Linked DNA regions of Homo sapiens: regions 1 and 2 are each linked to region 3. Evidence: promoter capture Hi-C in 16 types of primary human blood cells and fetal thymus (Javierre and others, 2016). All regions are on one chromosome and are shown on one strand. Each heading gives the region's core, a stretch centred on a gene start or on the middle of the fragment in contact. The rest is flanking DNA. Distances are from core to core; before and after follow the strand shown.

Evidence for each region. Contacts are between HindIII fragments. The CHiCAGO score rates a contact against its expected background, and 5 or more counts as called.
Region 1: a fragment that was not itself captured here is called in contact with the fragment with the promoter of GBX2 in region 3 in 1 of 17 cell types (endothelial precursors); the score reaches 7.3 in endothelial precursors.
Region 2: a fragment that was not itself captured here is called in contact with the fragment with the promoter of GBX2 in region 3 in 6 of 17 cell types (megakaryocytes, M1 macrophages, M2 macrophages and 3 more); the score reaches 9.7 in megakaryocytes.

What each region holds. Positions count from the first base shown.
Region 1 is chr2:235,825,456-235,829,398 of GRCh38, forward strand. All of the region lies in intron 9 of AGAP1 (ArfGAP with GTPase domain, ankyrin repeat and PH domain 1), which reads left to right. Among named protein-coding and RNA genes, the nearest start is that of TNRC17, 310 kb to the left of the region's middle. RefSeq lists an enhancer at 1,710-2,909. The HindIII fragment of the contact is 3,002 bases long and covers 183-3,184 here.
Region 2 is chr2:235,757,192-235,760,662 of GRCh38, forward strand. The region is part of intron 6 of AGAP1 (ArfGAP with GTPase domain, ankyrin repeat and PH domain 1); the gene reads left to right. All of the region lies in intron 3 of LOC105373942 (a long non-coding RNA gene), which reads right to left. Among named protein-coding and RNA genes, the nearest start is that of TNRC17, 240 kb to the left of the region's middle. The HindIII fragment of the contact is 2,788 bases long and covers 1-2,683 here.
Region 3 is chr2:236,166,387-236,169,810 of GRCh38, forward strand. GBX2 (gastrulation brain homeobox 2) reads right to left here and starts at 2,000. Exons shown (of 2, transcript NM_001485.4): 1 at 1,063-2,000; 2 at 1-51. The coding sequence starts at 1,585. GBX2-AS1 (GBX2 and ASB18 antisense RNA 1) reads left to right here and starts at 1,056. Exons shown (of 2, transcript NR_186035.1): 1 at 1,056-1,283. It overlaps LOC124906126 (a long non-coding RNA gene), which reads left to right and starts at 2,640. Exons shown (of 2, transcript XR_007088136.1): 1 at 2,640-2,998; 2 at 3,143-3,410. RefSeq lists an enhancer at 179-1,131. The HindIII fragment of the contact is 5,712 bases long and covers 1-2,801 here.

The sequences.
Region 1 (3,943 bases), core at 434-2,933, 340 kb before region 3:
CGTTATTTTTTTCTATTGCCCTTCCCGTGATCACTTATGCATATAAATATCATTATGCTTTTGCTTAACTGGGGCAAAAATCATGTGCATTATTTCAGTGTCTGCTTTTAAAAGTAGATGGTAGTATTTTATTTTCAGTTAGGTGAAGCAGAAAAATGTATCCAGCAAAGTCTTCATTAAAAAGCTTAAGATGGCTAGAACTAAATATACATTGAACACAATTACTAATTTATCAAATATGTTTGCATGTTGGTCAGTATATACAATAAAAAATAGTGTTTAATTTGAAATGTTAAAACCCTCTCTAGGTCCAAAAAATAGAATGGATGAGACCTACTATTTGATAGCACAGCAGGGTGACTTTAGTCAGTAATAACTATACATTTAAAAATAACTTAAAAGAGTGTCATTGGATTGTTTGTAACCCAATGGATAAATGAGAGGATGGAGACCTTATTCTCCACAGTGTGCTGCTTTCACATTGCATGCCTGTATCAAAACATCTCATGTGCCTCATAAATATATACACCTACTATGTACTCAAAAAATTAAAAACAGAAAAAAAAAAATAGAAACCCTCTCAATTGTTGCTGCACCCAGCGTGGAAGAGGAGGTGTGCGAAACCATGCTAACGTGGCGCCATGCCCTGTGATGAAAGAGCCACCTGCTTAGTTGTTGGCTCCAGTAGAAGGAGAAGGAACACACCGTTTGCTTACTGGATGGCAGAGCGTTGGCATGCTCTTTATCCCTCATAGATTCCTTTCAGGTTACCCCCAAATAGGGTGACCTAGTTTTCCTCATGAGCATGGCTTATTAAGGGCCCCAAAAGTCTAACCTCTGCCAACTCAGAGATGCTGCTTGGGCAGATACAGGGCCTGAGCAGGGATAAGGAAAGGTAACCATCAGCTGCATAACCATGCATTTGCAGGTTCATTCTTTCTACTTTCGTCTCCGTTGCTCCGTTTCACATATCTTTTTTTTTCTTCCCCCACCCCCACTCCTTTTTTTGAGACAAGAGTCTTGCTGCTCTGTCACCCAGGCTGGAGTGCAGTGGCACGATCTCGGCTCACTGCAACCTCCACCTCCCAGGTTCAAGTGATTCTCCTGCCTCAGCCTCCCAAGTAGCTGGGATTACAGGCGCCCGCCACCACACCCAGCTAATTTTTGTATTTTTAGTAGAGACGGGGTTTTACCATGTTGGCCAGGGTGGGCTCGAACTCCTACCACCCGCCTCAGCCTCCCAAAGTGCTGGAATTACAGGTGTGAGCCACTGCACACGGCTTGCTTCCCCATATCTTTTTAAAAATGTTTTTTTGCAACATTAGCCACCCTGAGAGTTTCTTCACGAAGTTCCTGTGGAGGTGGCTGGCTGTCTTCGTCACTTTTCTCCACAGAATGTTTCTAAAACACACAAATTTGGCCAAACAGCCTCCAAAGCAATGATTTCATATCTCCTTCCTCCTATTGTTCACTAACTTTGATTAAGTTAGAGAAAAGTACCTGCACTTTTCAGATACGGTGGCTCCGCGTGTTGGAGAATTCAGTACCAGATCCATGGCTCATCCTAAGCAGGGCAAGGAGGAGGGGAGCTCTTCACCCCTGGGCGGGTTTGTAGTGCGGCTTGTGCGTCTCCCCAGATTGCAGAGGAGAGGAAATACATCCCCTTCAAGATGAGAGGACACAGCTGCAACGTCTTATTTTAAAAATATGTGTGACTTTTACTTTCTGCTTCATACATGCATCACGTGTTTGAATATACTTTCTATTATTTGTGAGTTAACATTGCTGTTTTTCTCCAAGTGTTTGAGTGAAATTGATTCTCCACGCAGACTCTCCTTGCTCACCCTGAGGTTTCAGGGCTTTGACCTGAGGGCTGAGACCACAGGGCACAGCTCCTGACCCACGTGGCTGAAGGGCTTGGAGCAGGAGGTAAGGGGGCTGCCGGCGTAGCTCCAAGGTGATGAATATTTCTACTTGATATTTCTCCTGGTATTTCTGCACTTTAATGACTATTTCTACTAATACTTGTACTAATAATTTTTAATGGTTCACATTGAGTAGGTGACATTTTGATACATTAATGAGCCTTATCAATGACTTTTAAAAGTTCCTTAGTGTGCCAGGATACTTTGCTGCAGCCCTTGGAAGGAAGGGGAGAGGGTGTGGCTGTGGCCCCCATTCTACCCTCTGAGCATGAGTCACAGGTGGCACGCCTAAGAGTAACATCCACGGCTGAATCGTCACCGGCATTGAACTACACTTCCAAGGTTAGTCAGGGAGGCTTTCCTTTAACATAGCTTGCCCGTACTAAAAGCTGTCAGAATACTGGAGAAATGTAGGCCTTGAAGATAGAGGGGTGTTTTCAGGGGTGGCTGCCTTCACTCTGGAATGCTTTGCGCCTGCTGGGATGTTGCTAGCATGCCTGTGGGGAGAGGCCCGGAGGGCTGGGCTGCGAGGGAGGCTGCACTGGCTTCTGGGAAGCGCTGGTTTCTGGAGCAGGCCAGCCTGCGGGACTCCAGGACTGAGGCTTGCCCAGCCACTGTGGGTCCTGACGGTGCAGTAGGGGCTGCATTTTGACAGACTTACAACAAGTATCCCAGAGAAAGATGAGAGCAGATGGGGATCCTGAATTTTGGTTTCCTGGGGACAAATGTTTTCTGGCTTGTTCTCATGTTTCTGGGAAATAATGGGATTAAATTCGAGTATCTTTCTTGGCTACAGGAATTGATGGAAGAGGAAGTATTTTGAACTCAGTGAAATGAGCATTCCTCTGCACTAGGCCGACCCCTTTCTGTGGCAGCCCACTGGAACATAAGCACCCCATGTTGGGAATTTCTTTTTTTGGTCACCAGTGTATCCCAGACCCCTAGAGTAGCTCTCAGTAAATATTTATGTAATGAAAAATCTCAATTCTCACAACCACCTTAGGAGGGATAATAGCATAATCCCCATTTCACAGACAGAATGAATGCTCAGAGAAGTTGAGCCACTTACTCAATGTCACTCAGCCTGGGAGTGGTAAACTAACACTTATGCATTGTATGGAACTGCCCACGAGTCACGTTTGTTCTATGAGAAGGCAGAAAATACCTGGGGAGGTCTTGCCCAGGGGTGTGTATGTCTTAATTGATAAACCTCTGGAATTGGAAACGTAGAGGGTAGTCCAGGGTAGAATTTAGGCTCAAGCTTACTTTGAGAGCATGTTGCCCTAAGAGTGGAATGTCATGGAGCAAATTCCAGAAGCTTTCGCTCACCCAGCCTTTTCAAAGTCCATCCCAAGACTGTTGGGTCCACATGTTGCTCGGATGTCATGAGATGTCCCTGGTTGACACGTTGAGGACACGCTAAACCACACGAAGATAATGGGTGTCATTTTGCATGACTCACAGCCCTTACCATTTGAACGTGCAATGGATGCTCCGAGAAAGAACAGACCTTGAGTCCTCGTTTGTAAGACACAGCTCTCAGACGCAGCCTGTCCAGAGTTCTGAGCCTCAGTTTTGGGGGTCAGGTGTCATTGTCTTAAGATGCAGTTTTGTGGACTGGTACAGAGTTCAGTCTAAGGCAGATGTCTCTCTTTTATTCCTGTTGTCTTTCAACATTTGGGCTACTGGGTAGATGGGCACCAGTGACTGGGCAGATTGGCACCAGGACTTTGTCTACAACCTGCGTTTCCCTGTTTGTTCTGCCATGGGGCATGAGGCAGCGCCTGGCTGACCTTGGACTTGCAGGCAGCCTCTGTGCATCCCCTGGCCCCTGGCCTTGTTGTTAGATGGTGCATTTCGTTTTCTGGAGAGAGAGAGAGAGCTGGACCACTGTGGCCGTTGTCAGAATTCCACTTTCGTCATCAAGGATTCATTTTCTTTATGTCCGTAATGTGATGGGGCAGCATTAGCAGTCGGTCACCTGTGTTTCCAAAGGGAGAAGTATTTTCAGGATGTAG
Region 2 (3,471 bases), core at 40-2,539, 410 kb before region 3:
CTCTCTGCTTAACGGTCTCCAGGGCCAGTTTGGTGATCTCACATAGACTTCTGTCCTAGAACAGATCTGCATTATTGTGGAGGGAGAGACAGTAGGTTCTAGGTGTATGGGAAAGCTGGGCAGTGGCACTGGAAGGGCGCTGTGTGCCAGGTGCTAGCGCTCCCGGGCCCTGTGTGCCAGGTGCTAGTGCTCCCGGGCTCTGTGTGCCAGGTGCTAGTGTGGCCACAGCCTTGTGGCTTATTAGGGCTTCCTCTGTTCACACGCTGTGTACATCGTCCTGGTGGATGGGTGTTTATCTGGTAGAGTAGTTCCTGGTCTAGGCAGATCCATGTCAGTCCTTTGACCTCATTGCCCCTGGCTTTTTATGTTTGTGCTGCAGTTAACATTCTGGAAAGCACTTTTATAGAAGCCATTCCATTTGTCTTTTGTCCCTTCCCAGTAACGGCTCACCTGGGCCTATCTAACCCATGCCGAGAGCCCGAGCTGGGAGAGGTTGCATGATTTTTACCAAGGTTGTGCGGGAAGTCAGGGAGCCTCGGTGTGCTCTTGATGCTTTGCTTCCAGAGATTGAAATCCTGGTGTGTGCAAAGAACCCCATCTCACATTAAATGGCTGCAGCTGCCTGGTCCTAATTACAGGAGTGTCCAGAACCAGGGGAGCTATGTTAATGAGTCCGTTTGTGCAACCTAATTGCACGCACTAGAGCATCTGTGAATGTAAGCAGTCTTCTGGGCCTCTTCTCCTGGGTCCTGCATCATCTTGGACCATTTTGTTTTGCTCACACCACAGTCCTTGTGCTGTTAAAGGATGTATCAGTTAAGCCTATTCCATTCTTTCCTGAAATCAGCTTAATTTTCATTGTCGGGGTGGCCTGTTTTATGATTTGTTTTTGTTGCTATTTTTTTCTCCTTTATTACAGATTAGATTGGAACTAGTGTGTGTGTGCATGCGTGCATGTGTGTGTGTATATGTGTGTTAGCGAGGGAATACTTCAAAAAATAAGATTTTTTACACTTGAAAGCAAGCCATGTATATGTGTACATTAGGCACTTGATATATGTTGAAAAGGTGGATTAATGGGTCATTAATTGTCCATTTTTTAATCACTTGTAGTAATGACTAATAATTATGCAACAATTTAACGGCTTATGATGTAGGATAGTGGATCTTATTAGGCCCAGTTTACAGCTGGGACTACATTGTTGGAAATGCTGCCTTCCCAGAGGTACATGGTGCAGCTGGTGTCAGGCGAGGCCATCATTTCCCGTTTCTACCTGTGGTCTTGGCTGTGCACCTGTACTCATCACTGTCCCCGTCTCTACACCCTCACCCCCTCCACACATTGAAAGTCTTATTTCTAAGACTTCCTGGGACAGATGGGTGGTAGATGTGTATTGGGACAGTATGAAAGAGGTTCAGCTGCTTAAATTACACTTCATTAAGGGGGTTCATATTTGAACATTTTCTGAGAACAAAGATGACATGAAGAAAGTGACCTCTGTAAGGCTCTGGCAGCACTTATGCGGTACCAATACAAATGGGGGTTGGGGGCTGAGCAGAAAACATTCTTCAAGAGTTAAATGATCAAGTCACGTAAGGCGTGTTGTTTTTGTTTTGTTTTGAGACAATGTCTCACTGTCACACAAGCTGGAGTGCAGTGACACAATCTTGGTTCACTGCAACCTCTGCCTTCTGGGCTCAAGCCGTCCTCCCGCCCCAGCCTCCCAAGTTGCTGGGATTACAGGTGCGTGCCAGCACACCCAGCTAGTTTTTGTATTTTTAGTAGAAATGGGGTTTTGCCATGTTGCCCAGCCTAGTCTCGAACTCCTGAGCTCAAAGCGATCCGACCGCCTCAGCCTCCCAAAGTGCTGGGATTACAGGCATGAGCCATGGCACCCGGTCATATAAGGGGGTTTGATGCTGGTTTGGGAGACATTCTGGTGTCGTTAGCCCTAGGGTTGTTGATGTCATTCTTTTTTTTTTTTTTTTTTTTTTGAGATGGAGTCTCGCTCTGTCACCCAGGCTGGACTGCAGTGGTGTGATCTCAGCTCACTGCAAGCTCCACCTCCTGGGTTCACACCATTCTCCTGCTTCAGCCTCCCAAGTAGCTGGGACTACAGGCGCCTGCCACCACGCCCGGCTAATTTTTTTGTATTTTTAGTAGAGACGGGCTTTCACCGTGTTAGCCAGGATGGTCTTGATCTCCTGACCTCGTGATCCGCCCGCCTTGGCCTCCCAAAGTGCTGGGATTACAGGCGTGAGCCACCGCGCCCGGCCCTGGCAGCTTCACATGTAGGGCCATCCAGTGCATGTGAGAATCTGCAGATGGTCTCCAGAAGAGCCACATCTGACCTGCCTAGTAGCTTATCTCCCAGCGAATGGGAGAGGTGCAGACCTGCTGTTGACTGTAAGGAGACTTGATTCAGCCTGTTGGTGGGGGCGCACATGTGAGGAAGAAGCCTTGGTGGGTTTGTGTGGGTCTTTCTCTTATGCCATATCCCTGGTTTATATTTGGATGGGAAAATACATAAATGTTTGATGGTGATCATTTTTATGAAACATGACATTGTCAACTCCTTTCTTCATATGCATTTTCGAATTCAGTTCTTAACCAAAGAAGCTCTTTCTACAACAGGGTTAAATTATAAACTGAAATAGCAAATTAATACCAAAACTAAAATAAAGCTTTTTGTATAGTAAACCATACATTCAGAGGTTTAAAAAAATCCAACAAAATGAAAAATACTTTTGAGTTACTATTTTTAGAAAAAAATTAGTTTGGGTTGAAAAATTCTTACCCTCATGAAGCTATAAAAGCACATGTTTTACTGATGAGAGAAGCTTCTGGCACATCAACTGAGACAAAAATCTTCCATATTCACTCGGTAAATACAAATACAGAAGATGGGCTGGGCGCAGAGGTTCACAGCTGTAATCTAAGCACTTTGGGAGGCTGAGGCAGGCGAATTACCTGAGGTCAAGAGTTTGAGACCAGCCTGGCCAACATGCCGAAACCCCCCTCTCTAAAAATACAAAAATTAGCCAGGCATGGTGGCGTGTGCCTGTAGTCCCGGCTACTCGGGAGGCTGAGGAGGGAGAATCTCTTGAACCCGGGAGGCGGAGGTTGCAGTGAGCTGAGATCACGCCACTGCACTCCAGCCTGGGCGACAGAGCGAGACTCCGTCTCAAAAAACAAAACCAAAAACAAAATAAATACAAATGTGTAAGATAGAATTCGTTATGAAGCTACACCAGACATTTTCAGGAGTAATTTGAGAATGTGCTTGAGGTGATTATCCTTAAATCATCCAAGTGTTTTTGAATATTATTTCAATTATTTCATCTTAGAAGTATGAAATCAGCTTGTTTCTTGTTTAGAGTTGCCCTTTCTTTTTATTATTATTTCTTAATTGAGACAGGATCTCGATCTGTCACACAGGCTGGAGTACAGTGATGCCATCATAGCTCACT
Region 3 (3,424 bases), core at 750-3,249:
GGTCGTCTTCCACCTTTGACTCGTCTTTCCCTTGCCCTCGGACAGCCCCGACTGAAAGCAAAACCAAACGGCATTTTATTACATTTCGCACACTGGCCTTCCTTTCTCCTTCCCACCGTCATTTGGACATTCCGCGCCCCCCGCCCCCCACCCTTTAGCGGATTGTCTTTCTATGACATTAACACATTGTGATTTCCTGGCCTTTGAGGGGTAGAGGAGGGGTGGGGGGAGCGTGAGAAAGCTCAAAGGAGAGGAGGCAGTACAGGCGACGGCCCTTTGCCCAGAACCATCACTCAAAGGGCCGCCATGCCTCCCCCGCACCCTCCCAGCCTCGGCAGCGTCAGGAGAAGTAGCAGGAGGCGCGAGGCCCAAGAGATTGCCCGCTTTGTCCCTGGGGTGGGGACTGGTTGAGGACTGATGGGGGGATTCACGATTCATCCTCCCCCCACCGCCACCATGAAAATGTAGTGAACCTCAATTGCTTCCTAACCGGAGTGGAGGCGTAGGGACGTGCAGATCCCAGACCATCTTTTTTGAGACAGACAACGTTGGTCAAAGGGATGTTTTGTGGCCTTATAAGTTCCCACCAGACACCCCCAACACAAACACACAGGCACAGCCTCCCAGCAGTCCGTTTCTCCCAGACAAGTAGCAAGACCAGCGAAGGGGTTTAAAAAGTCTGGGCGCCCCTGGGCACACGCACGGCTGAGACGCGCAGCCCAACCCGTCTCCCCTAGAGGCTGCAACCTACCCGGAACCCCAGGTCACCGCGGAGCGGCAGAGGCGGCCTCGGCCAAACGCATCGTCAGATAGATATGTGGCCCAGGGCAGCAGCTGGTCGCCGGGCGCTAAACGCCCCCCCTCCCGAGACCCCGCTTGTTGGGTGGCTCTGAATGTCCCCCGGAGGCCCAGCGGCACAGCCGGGCCTCATCCTCCAGCTCCTCCCGCGGGGGTCGAGCGGGGGCGCGGCCTCGCCCCCTTGGTCTCCCGCGGGAACCCGGCGCTGGCCCGCCCCCGCCTCCTCCCGCCCCCTCGTCCCGGCTGCGCGCGCCGCCGACTCACCGAGCGAAGCCTGCACCGTCTCGGCCGCGGAGAAGGCGAGCAGCGAGCCCTCTTTGGCCAGGAAGCCTTTGCCGTCCTCCGCGTCAGCCTGCAGCGCCTCCGCCTTGTCGAAGTTACCGCCGCCGGGCAGCGGCTGCGGCGCGAACTTGCGGGCCGCTGCCGCCTCCTGGTGCTGGGGCGACGCGGAGAAGCCGCCGGGGAGCGTGGCCATGAGCGTAGAGGTGAGCGCCATGCCCTGCGCCAGGCTGGAGCAGAAGCCTGTGGGCAGGCTGGGGATCTGGTGGTGAGGGTGTGCGGGCGGCAGCGCTGGCTGCAGCGCGGCCTGGGGCAGCGCGGGCGGCGGCGGCGGCGGCGGCGGCAGCACTACCGGCCGGTAGGGCATGAACATGGGGTAGCCGGTGTAGACGAAATGGCCGGGGCTGGGCTGCGGCGGGCTGCCGATCAGCGAGTCTATGCTGAAGGCGGTGCTACTCCCCAGCGGGCGCTGCATCATCATCAGCGACGGCGGGAACGCTGCGCTCATAGACGCGCTCGGTAGAGGCCAGCGAGAGGCGAAAAGTCCCCGCGCCGCGCCGCCGCCGGGAAGCCCGCCGGACGCCGGGAGCACCGCCGGGAGCGCCGGGCAGGGGCCGAGCGGGACCCGGAGAGCAGACGCCTCCGCCCCTCAGTCCTGGGCCCGCTGCATGCCGGGCGGGTGCAGGGGGTGTGCGGGGTGAGGCCGTGCGCCCCGGAGTGGAGAGGGCGCCCGGGCCCCGAGGGCTCGCCGGAGCCCCCGTCCGCCGCTTGCCCGTCGGAGCCCGCGCGCTTCGCGGGTTTGGCCCTCGGCCCCGGTAAGCTGCCGTCCGTCCGTCCGTCCCGCCGTCCGTCGCCTCCCGCGGGCCGCTGGGGAGCGCGCGAAGCCGGCGTACTTATCTCCGGCGGGCGCAGCCAGCACCTTTAAATCGCGCTCCTCTTTCTCATTCACATTTTGCCTGCCGCCTGGCCCGGCTCGCCTCACGTGGGGCTGGGCGCCTCTGGCCATTGGCTGAGCGGGGCGGGGGTGGGGCGAAAGCGGGGCCCCGCCCTTTCCACCCAAGCTGGCCTCGAGCGGGCTGCGGGCGCCACCGTCGGAGCGCGCGGGCCGGGGAGCCGGAGCCTGCATGCCTAGCCCGTGCCGCGCAAACTTGAGACGGGCGGATGGCACCTCCAAGGCTCGGACCTTGGGGCCCTGCAGCCTTGTCGAGGCCACCTCGAAGGGTAGCCTCCGGGGCCCGCACCCCCACGGCTGGGCCGGGGGCGCTTTATTTCTTTTACTGTATTTGCCATGGAACCAACCTGCCTGCGGCTCACTCCAGCGCTGGGTGCTCCGGCTGCGCCTGGGGTCCGGGCGAGGGTCCTGGAGTTGGGGGCAGGGTCCTGCCCCTCCGGAGCCACCCCCGGGGCGAAGGCTGGGAGCTGGCAGCGCCTGCCCGCCGCCAGAAACCCGCCGGGTTGCTCGCTGTAGGTCCGCGCACCGGGTGGGGCGGGGAGGCTGCTGCTTCCCCCATCCCGGGCTGGGCCCTCCCGTGAGCGATCCCGTCTCTCATTTTTCATGACATTCTTAATCATCGCACCTATTTACACACTTTGCCAGCGCGCACCAAAATAACAACCACGATAATTATGATAATAAAGAGAGTCCTTTATCTGCTCCATCCTCGGGGAGGAAGGGGGGAGTTGCTGTGCCTCCAGATTGTATAACGTGAGATTATCCTGATGAAAGCTTTATGATGTTTGCTCAAATAAAAGCTGCGTTTTGTAAATAGGCGCTAATTAAGCACGTTGCGAACGCAAGGAGTGCTCACCCTGGCGCCGCCGCCCGGTTTCCAGCGCGAGGACTCGAGGGCGCGCGGTTCCTCTTTGCTAACTGCAGGATGGAGCCGATCCCCTCAGGATGTTTCCCCTGTTCTCGACAACGGTAAAGACCCCCAAATTTGAAAGTAAGGGAATTTTGGGGTGGAGGGAAACTAGGGACGTACTTATCCCCTCTTCCATTTTCAAACAAAAAACTTTCAGCTCTTGTCTTCCCTTTAAAAATGGAATCACTTCTTGACAACGGCAGACCGTGCAGAGCGCACCAGCGCGAGCGGGGCTTCCTCGAGTCTCCAAGGCCCGGGCTTCAACTTCCCGGGTCTAGACGTCAGCCCTGAACCGCCAACAGCACCGGGTTGGGGAGAAGGAAAGAAGGGCATTGTTAGTTCGGTCATTAAAAATCAGCTCACGCCGAGGAGCTAGTGGTTGGGGAGTTGGCCCGTGTTGGACGTGTGTTATGTATCACTTACAAGCACATTTAATTGGGAGATAAAGATAAATCGATCTTTATGAATTTATCGACCCGATTCTT